Linked DNA regions of Homo sapiens: all the other regions are linked to region 3. The links are contacts of gene promoters, found by promoter capture Hi-C in blood cells and fetal thymus (Javierre and others, 2016). All regions are on one chromosome and are shown on one strand. The core of a region is centred on a gene start or on the middle of the fragment in contact, and the rest is flanking DNA. Distances in the headings are between cores, read along the strand shown. Region 1 has its middle 26 kb from the start of MAP3K14. Region 2 overlaps HEXIM1 (HEXIM P-TEFb complex subunit 1). Region 3 holds the start of FMNL1-AS1 (FMNL1 antisense RNA 1).

Region 1 (4,414 bases), core at 856-3,355, 100 kb after region 3:
GTGACAAGGTAGGTGAGAAGGACTGGAGTGACTCTGGAGTCCTCAGGACCTTTCTGGGATGTGCTGACGGGTGGTTCACAGGGGTCCCTGGGCATCTGGGCTCCTGTCTTTGCCCTGCTTAAGGCTGGGGTGGGACCTGGTCCCTGTCTCCTTGGCTGTGCTGCAGTTGCACCCTCCTTCCTGTGCCCCTGCTCCTCCTCACTGGCTGTCTCAGTGCCAACAGAACCAAAGGAGCAAAGTGGCTTAAGATAACCCTGCCATTTTACATCAAAGCTCTAGGGTCATCTTTAATTTTTACTTTTTTTTTTTTTTTTTTGAGACAAGAGTCTCACTCTGTCACCCCGGCTGGAGTGGAGTAGTGTGATCTCAGCTCACTGTAACCTCGGCCTCCTGGGTTCAAGCGATTCTCCTGCCTCAGTCTACCCATTAGCTGTGATTACAGGCGCACACCACCATGCCCAGGTAATTTTTTTTGTATTTTTAGTAGAGACAGGGTTTTACCATGTTGGCCAGGCTGGTCTGGAACTCCTGACCTCAAATGATCCACCTGCCTTGGCCCCCCAAAGTGCTGGATTGTAGGTGTGAGCCACAAAATTTTTAAGTTGTTTGTTTGTTTGTTTGTTTGTTTGAGACAGGGTCTCATTCTGTTTCCCAGGCTGGAGTGTAATGGCCCGATCATAGCTCACTGCAGCCTTGACCTCTTGGGCTCAAGCGATCCTCCCACCTCAGTCTCTTGAGTAGATGGGACTACAGGTGTGTGCCACCATGCCCGGATTTTTTAATTTTTAAAACTTTTAGTAGAGAAGGGGTTTTGCCATGTTGCCCAGGCTGGTCTCAAACTCCTGGCCTCAAGCCATCCTCCTGCCTCAGCCTCCCAAAGTGCTGGGATTACAGATGTGAGTCACTGCGACTGGTGTAATTTTTAAGTTTGTATTGGAAAACAATTTACCATCTTCAAATATATATTATCTCACAAATAGAAATATAGTGAGAAGCTGGTATTCATGTTAGATTCCAGTAAAGAAGATTTAGGCTTAGGGTGAAGAAGGATTCACAGCCCATGAGTATTATTTAAGCACAGAAACTGATGACTGTGTACTGTGCAGTGCATGGAGAACCCTTTATAAAGAACTTCCAGGAGAGACTGAATTTATCTGGCAGGGATGGTTTGGGTTAAGGTTTTAACTTCTGTGCTGTTTTTGATTAAAATCTGCCAGCGCCTCTGACTGAGTTAGACCTCTCTGATCTCTTGTTACTTTGTTATTTCCTAAGAATCTGAGCTGGAGCTGGATGACAAATACGGTCCTCTGCCCCGTCAGCCATGGACCTGGGGGATGACCTCTCCTTTGCCAGAGGAGGATGGGAGCTGGTGGGTGCTGAGACTGACAGTGGATCCACCCAGGCGGAGAGTCTCTTAATGACTCGACTTGGATCCTGTCAGGGCTCTGCCTGCTCTCTTGCTCTTGGGGCATCCTGTGGCTCTCCCAGTAGGGGAGGAGGGGGCGTGGCTGGACGCTTGCTCGAGGCCCTCCCCATACCAGCAAAGTCCTGCCCCCTTGACTCCTGAAGGTAGGCTGGCTCCTTCTCCAGGCCTCCCTTCCTCACTTCCTGCCACTCTGCTGAAACAGGCTCCACGGTTCCTGCTGGCTCCAGCCTCCCGCTGGCCTCTTCCACGGCCCTCTGCATCTGAAGCTGCACCGCATCCGGGTGTGAGTCTTCAAATCGAGTCCATTGGCCCAGTTGGTTCTAAGTTCCCTGAAGGCTGAGACTCACCCTGCTCTGCTCACCATGCTATGCCCAGCTCAGCCAGCCCACGAGAGGAACCCAGGAAATATTTGTTGAACCCATTATTGTATGGATTAATATTGTAATGTAATAAAATGATGGATTCCACAAATATTTCCTGGAAGACGGGTGTGGAAGTCACACGGACCTGGGTTCATGTTCCATCTCAGCAAGCTGCTCAGCCTGAGTCCCTCAGGCTTGTTACCTTCAAAGTGGGGGTAATCATTCCACCGGGCTCATGGGGCAGCTGTGGGGAAACTGAGGCGTGCACATGCAACAATTAGCAGAATGCCGGGTGGGGCAGAGTACACACTGAAGGGATAGGAGCCACTATGATGAGACTCCCTCTTGTGCTGGGATGGTGAGGGCGAGGGCCCAGGATCCATCGTACAGGCGGATGCATGGTGAGCAGAACACGTGTGAGGCGGGGGGCCCGATGTGCCTTGGGATGGTAGGAAAGAATTCATCCCTGCCGTTGACACTGGCTAATATCATGTCAGATGGGCCAGAGAATATACCCTAGTGGTTGCCTATGGAGGTCGGCGAGAGAGGAGACGCGGCTAGCACAGGAAGAGGGGAGAGAAGGAAAGGGGGCACCAGCCAGGCAGACCAGGCAGGGTAGGTAAATCAAGCAATCCTCCCATCTTGGTCTCTCAAAGTGCTGGGATTATAGTTGTAAGCCACTGTGCCCAGCCTTCTCAGATTCTTTCCTGCCTTGCTAGGAGGGTGGGGAGCAGAGCAGAGGGGCTAGGCCCTGGGGGTGGGTAGGGAAAGAGAGACAGGCTCTGGCATCTACACCCAGATCCTAACCCCAGCTTTGCCACTGTGTGAATATGGACAAATCACCCTCTTTCTCACCCTAGGTCTCAGCTCCCCCTCTGTGCAGACACACTGACAGCCACATGTGGACTTCTCCCCCAGCTGCAGCTGGGAATCGGCCTCCAGTCAGAAGCAGGACAGGGAACAAGCATGGTGGTTTTGGTGTCATGGATTCAAATCCCAGCTGGATGACTCTGCTCACCTCACCTGCCTTTCAGTTTCCATGAGCTGCTATATAGCAGAGTGGTCAGGAGCACAGACTCTAGAGCCCGACCCAAGGTTAATCCCTGTTCTGCCACTGACTATGGGAACACAGACAAGGCACTTCACTCTGGGCCTCAGTTTACCAGTCTCTTAAATGGGGATGGATATAATCATCCTCTTCTCTAGGGATATTGTGAGAGTTAAAGGAGGTAATTAACATAAAACCCTTAGAACAGTGCTTAGCGCAGGTGAGGGTCATGTCGCTGAATATAAGACACTGTCTATGCATTACACTTTTAAAGATGTTAAAATGCAAAAATGTGCACCCCTATAATTGAGGAGGTAAGGTATAATTTCGAGATACTGCATAGAAAACATCACTGTAAACTCTAAAATAATAGGCAAAACCTAAAGTTCCTGGGTGTTTTCTGTGTGCCAGGCACTGTGCCAAGGACTTACAAGCATTGTCCCATTCAACCCTATAATAACCCTATGAGGAAGGTTATAGAATCATCTTCACTTTACAGATGAGGAAACAGAGACCCCAAGACATTAAGTGATTTGTCCAAGATCACACAGCTTTGTCCACATAAATGTTGGGCATTCATCACCACAACCGCAACTGTCCCACCCCTTTTTGGCTTCATCTGGTTTAGAAATTTTTTGTTTGTTTGTTTTTTTGTTTGTTTGAGACGGAGTCTCACTCTGTTGCCCAGGCTGGAGTGCAGTGGAGTGATCTTGGCTCACTGCAACCTCTGCCTCCCGGGTTCAAGCGATTCTCCTGCCTCAGCCTCCCAAGTAGCTAGGACTACAAGCACACGCCACCACACCCGGCTAATTTTTGTGTTTTTAGTAGAGAAGGGGGTTTCAGCATGTTGGCTAGGCTGGTCTTGATCTCCTGACCTCCTGATCTGCCCACCTTGGCCTCCCAGAGTGCTGGAATTACAGGCAAGAGCCACTGTGCCTGATCTAGAATGGTTTTACTCCATGGTTCTGGAACTTGGCTGCTTGTTGGAATCACTAGGGAGCTTTAAGAAATCCTGAGACTGGGCAAGATAGTGAGACCCCATCTCAAAAAAAAAAAAAAAAGCAACAACAAATTAGCCAGGTGTGGTGGCTTGTGCCTGTAGTCCTAGCTACTCAGGAGGCTAAGATGGGAGGATCTCTTAAGCCCAGGAAGTCAAGGCTGCAGTGAACTATGATAGTGCCACTGCCCTCCAGCCTGAAGTCTGGGGCTCCCCCTCAGAGATTTATATGTAATTGGTCTGGGATGTGGTCTGCACATTTGGGATTTTAAAAATGACCCCCCTTTCGGCCGGGCGTGGTGGCTCATGCCTGTAATCTCAGCACTTTGGGAGGCTGAAGTGGGTGGATCACGAGGTCAGGAGATTGAGACCATCCTGGCGAACACGGTGAAATCCCATCTCTACTAAAAATACAAAAAAATTAGCCAGGTGTGGTGGCGGGCGCCTGTAGTCCCAGCTACTCGGGAGGCTGAGGCGGGAGAATGGCGTGAACCCAGGAGGCGGAGCTTGCAGTCAGCCGAGATCATGCCACTGCACTCCAGCCTGGGCGACAGAGCGAGACTCCGTCTCAAAAAAAAAAA
Region 2 (4,727 bases), core at 1,708-4,207, 88 kb before region 3:
ATGGAATGTAACATTATATACATGTGTATATAAGACAGTGGACCTTTTTATGACACATAATCAGAAGAGAAATCCCCCTGGCTTTGGTTTCGTAAATTTAGCTATATGTAGCTTGCGTGCTTTCTCCTGTTCTTTTAATTATGTGAAACTGAAGAGTTGCTTTTCTTGTTTTCCTTTTTAGAAGTTTTTTTCCTTAATGTGAAAGTAATTTGACCAAGTTATAATGCATTTTTGTTTTTAACAAATCCCCTCCTTAAACGGAGCTATAAGGTGGCCAAATCTGAGAACAATTAAATTCATTTTAGTTATAATAAATTTAATATTTGTAAATGTAACATAGTTTCAGTGTGATTTCTAGAGCTAATTCAAAATAGTATTGATATATTTTATGTGACTGCATTTTTGGGGAGGGGTACCGAAATCGTTAAATTTGTCAGTTTGCAAAAATATCAATCTTTAATGGGAGAATTTTCAATTTGCCAATTTTTTCCTTGAATGGGTTTAAGTATGCTACAATATACAGTTCAGGCAAAATTTAAGATGTAATTATCTTCAATACTTAAGTGTGCTTGCTTTCTAGTGCCTTGGTTTTCTTTCTTGATGCTGGAAAAATAAACAAACCGGTATTGAGTGTTTAGGCGAGTGGAAAGTGGCTACAATCCAAAATTTTAAATTTAACTCTGCCTCGGCCATTCAAAAGTCTAATAACAAAAAATGTAAACCTAATTTGGCAGTTTGTTAGGTTAGACAACTGACAGCCTCATTTCATTCCTACAAGTTGGTTTTCAGTAATCTCTTCCTTCCCCCCAGTAAGGCTGGAAGAGGCTCTTGGCAAACTTCTTAGTGCAAGCAATGGTTAGATTAATTTGTGAGGCAGCTCTTTAAGACGTTCAGAGGTAAGAAATACTGGATTTATAAAGCAAATGGCTGTTTGGGGGATTCCAAGGATTTACCTAATTGTCCAATTCTACGTGCTCTCTATACCAAAACAAAAAAAAAAAGCTATCCACCTTTCCATGTGGGTCAAACTAAAATTAGAAATGTCCCCTCACTGCAGATCAAATGTAAAGCTTCCAGTTAAGGAGCTAAATGAGGTCCTCAGCTGAATGAGGAACCCTGTACATCCCCTTGCACAGCCCTATTCTAAATCGCTTAAACTATGCTGATAGCTGCTTAGGTTCTTGAGTAGTTCTGCTCTTAAACGTAGGGAGGCCCTGAGAACTAAATTTTGCCCCAAAATAAAAACAGAAATTATGAGATTGCCTCCTGTCATTTTGGTTAACCCAGTCCTTCACCTGCCCTGTGTCAGTGTCTTCTGAGGGCAATTGCGTTGCTCAAATCACTAGCACAGAGGTTCCTTAATTTGGGGCCTTAGAAACCATTGTGGGCCTTGGGGTCCATGAACCCCATGAAATTATTTGTAGACTTGTATGTACATTTTTCTGGGGAGAAGGTTCAAGAGATTCATAAGATTGTCAAACTCCTTGAAGGTTCAGAACCTCTGCAGGGAAGGGGGAAGAAAACCCTCCCATTAGGAAGCATGCTTTTGCAGTTAAATGGCGATGGTGGAGGTGATAGGGACTTCAAGAGTAAAATGCACCTTGTATTGCATAAGAAGCATACACAAATCAATAAATCAAGGGAGATTATACCAGTAGGACTGAATCAGGGCCTTCAAAGCTGGACTGAGTTGGTCCTGTTCTGGCACATATGGTCCACTGGAGACAATGTATGATTGAGTTTTTCTTTGGTCTAAAAATTATATTAAACATTTATTTTGAAATAGTTTTCTTCGTGTTTTTTTCTTCTGCTATGACGTCATGCAGCAGCCCCAGAAAAACAGCTGCTTGGAAAGGCAGCAACAGTGCCCTCTGGCTTTACAGTGCAGAGCTGAAGCCTCATTTTGACTGAACTGTAAGATGCAGCAGTGATTATCTCTGATATTAGACCCTTTTTCTTTATTTTTTTTTTTTTTTGAGACGGAGTTTCGCTCTTGTTGCCCAGGCTGGAGTGCAATGGTGCAATCTTGGCTCACCGCAACCTCTGCCTCCCAGGTTCAAGCGATTCTCCTGCCTCAGCCTCCCTAGTAGCTGGGATTACAGGCATGTGCCACCACCCCCAGCTAATTTTGTATTTTTAGTAGAGACGTAGTTTCTCCATGTTGGTCAGGGTGCTCTCGAACTCACGACCTCAGGTGATCCGCCCGCCTCGGCCTCCCAAAGTGCTGGGATTACAGGCATGAGCCACTGCGCCCAGCCCAGACCCTCTTCTTAAAGAGGGATTCAGCTATGAAAATCTTATTTCCCCTAGTATTAGAAAAATGATATTTAGAAAATGAATCTTGGAAAGACTATAAATGCATTTATCATCAGAAAAAGTATGTTTTAGAAGACAAATTCAGCCCAGTCTTCAAATATACAGATATCTAGGCTGGGCACAGTGGCTCATGCCTGTAATCCCAGCACTTTGGGAGGCTGAGGTGGGCAGATCACCTGAGGTCAGGAGTTAAGAGACCAGCCTGACCAACATACAGAAGCCCCGTCTCTACTAAAAATACAAAAATTAGCCGGGTGTGGTGGCACATGCCTGTAATCCCAGCTACTCGGGAGGCTGAGGCAGCAGAATCGTTTGAACCCGGGAGGTGGAGGTTGCAGTGAGAGGAGATCGCGCCATTGCACTCCAGCCTAGGCAAGAAGAGCGAAACTGTCTCAAAAATATATATATACACAAATATCTAATTACAAATAACTCTCATACATCAATTTACCTTAAGCTATGCAAGTATGTCTGAATTTTGCTTTCAAAGGCACTAGCATTTTACCTTTTTTTTTGCATTTATATTCTCACAATGATGAGGTTTATTCAAAATTTCAGTTTTAACACTTTCTATACTTTTTTTTTTTTTTTGAGACGGAGTCTCACTCTGTCGCCAGGCTGGAGTGCAGTAGCGTGATTTCGGCTCACTGCAACCTCAGCCTCCTGGGTTCAACCGATTCTCCTGCCTCAGCCTCCCGAGTAGCTGGGATTACAGGTGCACGCCACTGCAACTGGCTAATTTTTCTATTTTTAGTAGAGACGGGGTCTCGCCATGGTTGCCAGGCTGGTCTCGAACTCCTGACTTCAAGTGATCCGCCCGTCTCAGCCTCCCAAAGTGTTGGCAATATAGGCATAAGCCACCGCGCCTGGCTTTTTTTTTTTTTTTTTTTTGAGATGGGTCTTGCTCTGTTGCCTAGGCTGGAGTGCAGTGTCGCGATCTGGACTTACGGCAACCTCCACTTCCCAGGCTAAAGCGATCCTCCCACTGCAGCCTCCTGAGTAGCTGGTACTTGCCACCACGCCTGGCTATTTTTTTTTTTTTTTTTTTTTTTTTGGAGAGACAGGGTTTCACCCTGTTGCACAGGCTGGTCTCAAACTCCTGGGCTCAAACTCCTGGGCTCAAGCAATGCGCCCTCCTCCGCCTCCCAAAATTACAGTTGTGAGCCACCAAGCCCAGCCTATTCCTACACTTTTCTTTTTTTTGGGGGGGGGGTGAGGGATGGAGTCTTGCTCTGTCGCCCAGGCTGGAGTGCAGTGGCGCGATCTCGGCTCACTGCAAGTTCCGCCTCTCAGGTTCATGCCATTCTCCTGCCTCAGCCTCTCAAGTAGCTGGGACTACAGGCACCCGCCACCACGCTCAGCTAATTTTTTTTTTGTAGTTTTAGTAGAGACGGGGTTTCACCGTGTTAGCCAGGATGATCTCGATCTCCTGACCTCGTGATCCACCTGCCTCGGCCTCCCAAAGTGCTGGGATGATGGGTGTGAGCCACCACACCCGGCCTCCTATTTCTTCACTTTCTATTGAAACATTTAACTAGCATATTGCTCTCCTGGCAGAGAAAACAATTAGTTACCTATATTTTAATTTAAAAAAAAAAAGGTTGGGCCGGGCGTGGTGGTTCATGCCTATAATCTCAGCACTTTGGGAGGCTGAGGTGGGTGGATCTCTTGAGATCTGGAGTTAAGAGACCAGCCTGACCAATATGGAGAAACCTCATCTCTACTAAAAATACAAAATACAAAATTAGCCGAGCATGGTGGCAGGTGCCTGTAGTCCCAGCTACTTGAGAGGCTGAGGCAGGAGAATGGCATGAACCCGGGATGCGGAGTTTGCAGTGAGCCGAGATCGCCCCATTGTGCTCCGGCCTGGGCAACAGGAGTGAAACTCAGCCTCAAAAAAAAAAAAAAAAAAAGGCCGGGCGCAGTGGCTCACGCCTGTAATCCCAGCACTTTGGGAGGCCGAGGCAGGCAGATCACCTGAGGTCAAGAGTTCCAGACCAGCCTGGCCAACATGGTGAAACCCTGTCTCTACTAAAAATACAAAAATTGGCCAGGTGTGGTGGCTCACGCCTGTAATCCCAGCACTTTGGGAGGCCAAGGCGGGCGGATCACGAGGTCAGGAGATCGAGACCATCCTGGCTAACATGGTGAAACCCCGTCTCTACTAAAAATACAAAAAATTAGCTGGGTGTGGTGGCGGGCGCCTTTAGTCCCAGCTACTCGGGAGGCTAAGACAGGAGAATGGCGTGAACCCGGAAGGCAGAGCTTGCAGTGGGCCGAGATCACACCACTGCACTCCAGCCTGGGCAACAGAGCGAGACTCCGTCTCAAAAACAAAAACAACAACAAAAAAACACAAAAATTAGCTGGGCATGGTGGTGGGTGCCTGTAATCCCAGCTACTTGGGAGGC
Region 3 (2,500 bases), core at 1-2,500:
GGCGTACCTGGACAATATTTTTGATGTGGGGGCGCTGCTGGAGGACACAGAGACCAAGAACGCTGTGCTGGAGCACATGGAGGAACTGCAGGAGCAAGTGGCGCTGGTGAGAGTGGGTCCTGACCCCAGCCCAGCACATCATAGGCCCACAGGGCACACGGGCCACAGGGCCACGCAAGCATGGGCACTGGGCAGCAGACAGTGTTATAATTGTGCATTGGAGGTGCTGCCTGCCTGGCCCCAGAGCCTGGCCTGAATCCAAAGCCTGAATCTGTTGGGTGTCTTTCTCAATGAGTGTGGGTGAGCACCCTCACTGACAGGCCCCTCCTCTACCCAGGCTCAGACCCCAGGTGAACTGAAATGGGTGCCTGGGGCCCCTCCCAGCTCAGTCTCCTCCTCTCCCTCCACCTCCCGCATCACTGGTACCTTGGTTTCCTCTCCTTATTTGCTTGGGTTCGAGTGCCAGGCTCGGCCCACCCTTGGCACCTGGGCTGAGCGGATCTGGGAGCCTCCCCCAGTCTTCCAGGCAGGCATGCCTGATGCCGCCCCCTCACCGGCGGTGCCAGTGCCGGGCTGCGGGTCGGGGCTCACCATGTGCTGGTGCTACAGCTGACAGAGCGGCTTCGGGACGCGGAGAACGAATCCATGGCCAAGATTGCAGAACTGGAAAAACAGCTAAGCCAGGCGCGCAAGGAGTTGGAGACCCTGCGGGTGAGGCTGGGGCGGGTGGTAGGCCAGGCGCCCAAGAACAGGCCAGCTGAGGCTTCTAGGCTTGACATCTCCCTCCACCCCGGGAAGAAGATGGAGGCTTGGTGCCAAGGAGCCTGCTGGTGGGCACTGACCCCTCCCGTGGGGTTCGTAGGAGCGCTTCAGCGAATCGACCGCCATGGGGCCCTCCAGGCGTCCCCCAGAGCCTGAGAAAGCGCCTCCCGCTGCCCCGACGCGGCCCTCGGCCCTGGAGCTGAAGGTGGAGGAGCTGGAGGAGAAGGGGTTAATCCGTATTCTGCGGGGGCCGGGGGATGCTGTCTCCATCGAGATCCTCCCCGTCGCTGTGGCAACTCCGAGCGGCGGTGATGCTCCGACTCCGGGGGTGCCGACCGGCTCCCCCAGCCCAGGTGCGCAGGAGCTTCAGGCTGGCGGGGATGCGGGGCAGGGTCTGGAGGGGAGCCCAGGGGCATCTGTGGCGGGCAGAGTTGGGCGAGGGAGGTTTGGATTGTAGGCTCGGCTCAGGTAGGAGCGCATGCGTAGAGCGGAGAGGCGGAGAGGGGCCCACCCAAGTCAAGGAGCTGACTCGCGCCTCCCCCACGCCGCGCCCTCGCTGGCTCAGATCTCGCACCTGCAGCAGAGCCGGCTCCCGGAGCAGCGCCACCGCCGCCGCCCCCACTGCCCGGCCTCCCCTCCCCGCAGGAAGCCCCGCCCTCTGCGCCCCCACAGGCCCCGCCTCTCCCTGGCAGCCCGGAGCCCCCGCCTGCGCCGCCGCTGCCCGGAGACCTGCCGCCCCCACCCCCGCCACCGCCACCACCTCCGGGCACTGACGGGCCGGTGCCTCCGCCGCCGCCGCCGCCGCCGCCGCCTCCCGGAGGTCCTCCTGATGCCCTAGGAAGACGCGACTCAGAATTGGGCCCAGGTGAGTGGAGTGGACCACCTTGGGCCCGGGGCTGGGGGGAGATGGAGGGAGGGGCCTGGGCCTCAGTGTCCTCCAGGGTCCTCTGCCTGGGGGCCTCCTGCTGCCTCCTGGCTGCCCCATCAGCCCTCCCTGGGCCCAGGTTCCCTCCAGTAGTACCCCCAGTGCTCACCACTGCCCCCAAACCCCCGTCCCAGGAGTGAAGGCCAAGAAGCCCATCCAGACTAAGTTCCGAATGCCACTCTTGAACTGGGTGGCACTGAAACCCAGCCAGATCACCGGCACTGTCTTCACAGAGCTCAATGATGAGAAGGTGCTGCAGGTGAGTGGCCCTGCCTGGCTCCCCATGTGGGCACCGGAGGAAGAGGGGAGTTGCCTGGATCAGGCTGGGCCCTGGGGGTAGTCATTTTCTCCAAGCCATTTCACAGATGAGGAGGGGGAGGCCCAGGGATGGGCATTAAGCCAGACTGGACCAATACCTCTAACAGGCAGAATCCTGCTTTCCCAAACGCCTTCCCCTCCATCCCTGCAGAGGGGTGCCTCCCCTCACCCCACTTCTTCTGCCTCCAGGCCTCTTTCCTTCCACTTTCCCACAGGCAGCCAAGGCTTCAGCCCTCCTGATTCCACTTCCAGTTTTCCAAAAGGATGTATTCTCTTGCCTCTAGGCCATTGTTCCATTCTGTTTCCTCTGCCTGGAATGTCTTTTCCTTTCTCCTTTTTACCGCTGGCCAGTTCAGCTCTTCCTTTAGCTCTTGTGGCCCCAAGTCTGGATCCCCCGGGTTAGGCGGCCCTCCTCCTCCAGGCTCCCTGTGCTTCCCCTGTGCCTCCCATCAGGGCCTGTGGTCAGGCTGGGTTACTGGTTCTCTGCTGGTGGCC

What was found. Contacts are between HindIII fragments. The CHiCAGO score rates a contact against its expected background, and 5 or more counts as called.
Region 1: a contact is called between a fragment that was not itself captured here and the fragment with the promoter of FMNL1-AS1 in region 3, in 1 of 17 cell types (neutrophils). The highest score is 5.7, in neutrophils.
Region 2: a contact is called between a fragment that was not itself captured here and the fragment with the promoter of FMNL1-AS1 in region 3, in 4 of 17 cell types (fetal thymus, non-activated CD4 T cells, neutrophils and 1 more). The highest score is 6.9, in fetal thymus.

The regions. Positions count from the first base shown.
Region 1 is chr17:45,340,377-45,344,790 of GRCh38, forward strand. No RefSeq gene overlaps it. Among named protein-coding and RNA genes, the nearest start is that of MAP3K14, 26 kb to the left of the region's middle. The HindIII fragment of the contact is 6,243 bases long and covers 1-4,414 here.
Region 2 is chr17:45,150,317-45,155,043 of GRCh38, forward strand. It overlaps HEXIM1 (HEXIM P-TEFb complex subunit 1), which reads left to right. Exons shown (of 1, transcript NM_006460.3): 1 at 1-1,783. It overlaps HEXIM2-AS1 (HEXIM2 antisense RNA 1), which reads right to left. Exons shown (of 3, transcript NR_186789.1): 3 at 1-603. Among named protein-coding and RNA genes, the nearest start is that of HEXIM1, 4.2 kb to the left of the region's middle. The HindIII fragment of the contact is 3,779 bases long and covers 1,069-4,727 here.
Region 3 is chr17:45,240,520-45,243,019 of GRCh38, forward strand. It overlaps FMNL1-AS1 (FMNL1 antisense RNA 1), which reads right to left and starts at 1,251. Exons shown (of 3, transcript NR_186808.1): 1 at 592-1,251; 2 at 1-85. It overlaps FMNL1 (formin like 1), which reads left to right. Exons shown (of 27, transcript NM_005892.4): 12 at 1-106; 13 at 610-711; 14 at 863-1,115; 15 at 1,328-1,627; 16 at 1,822-1,946. RefSeq lists an enhancer at 643-1,361. The HindIII fragment of the contact is 17,531 bases long and covers 1-2,500 here.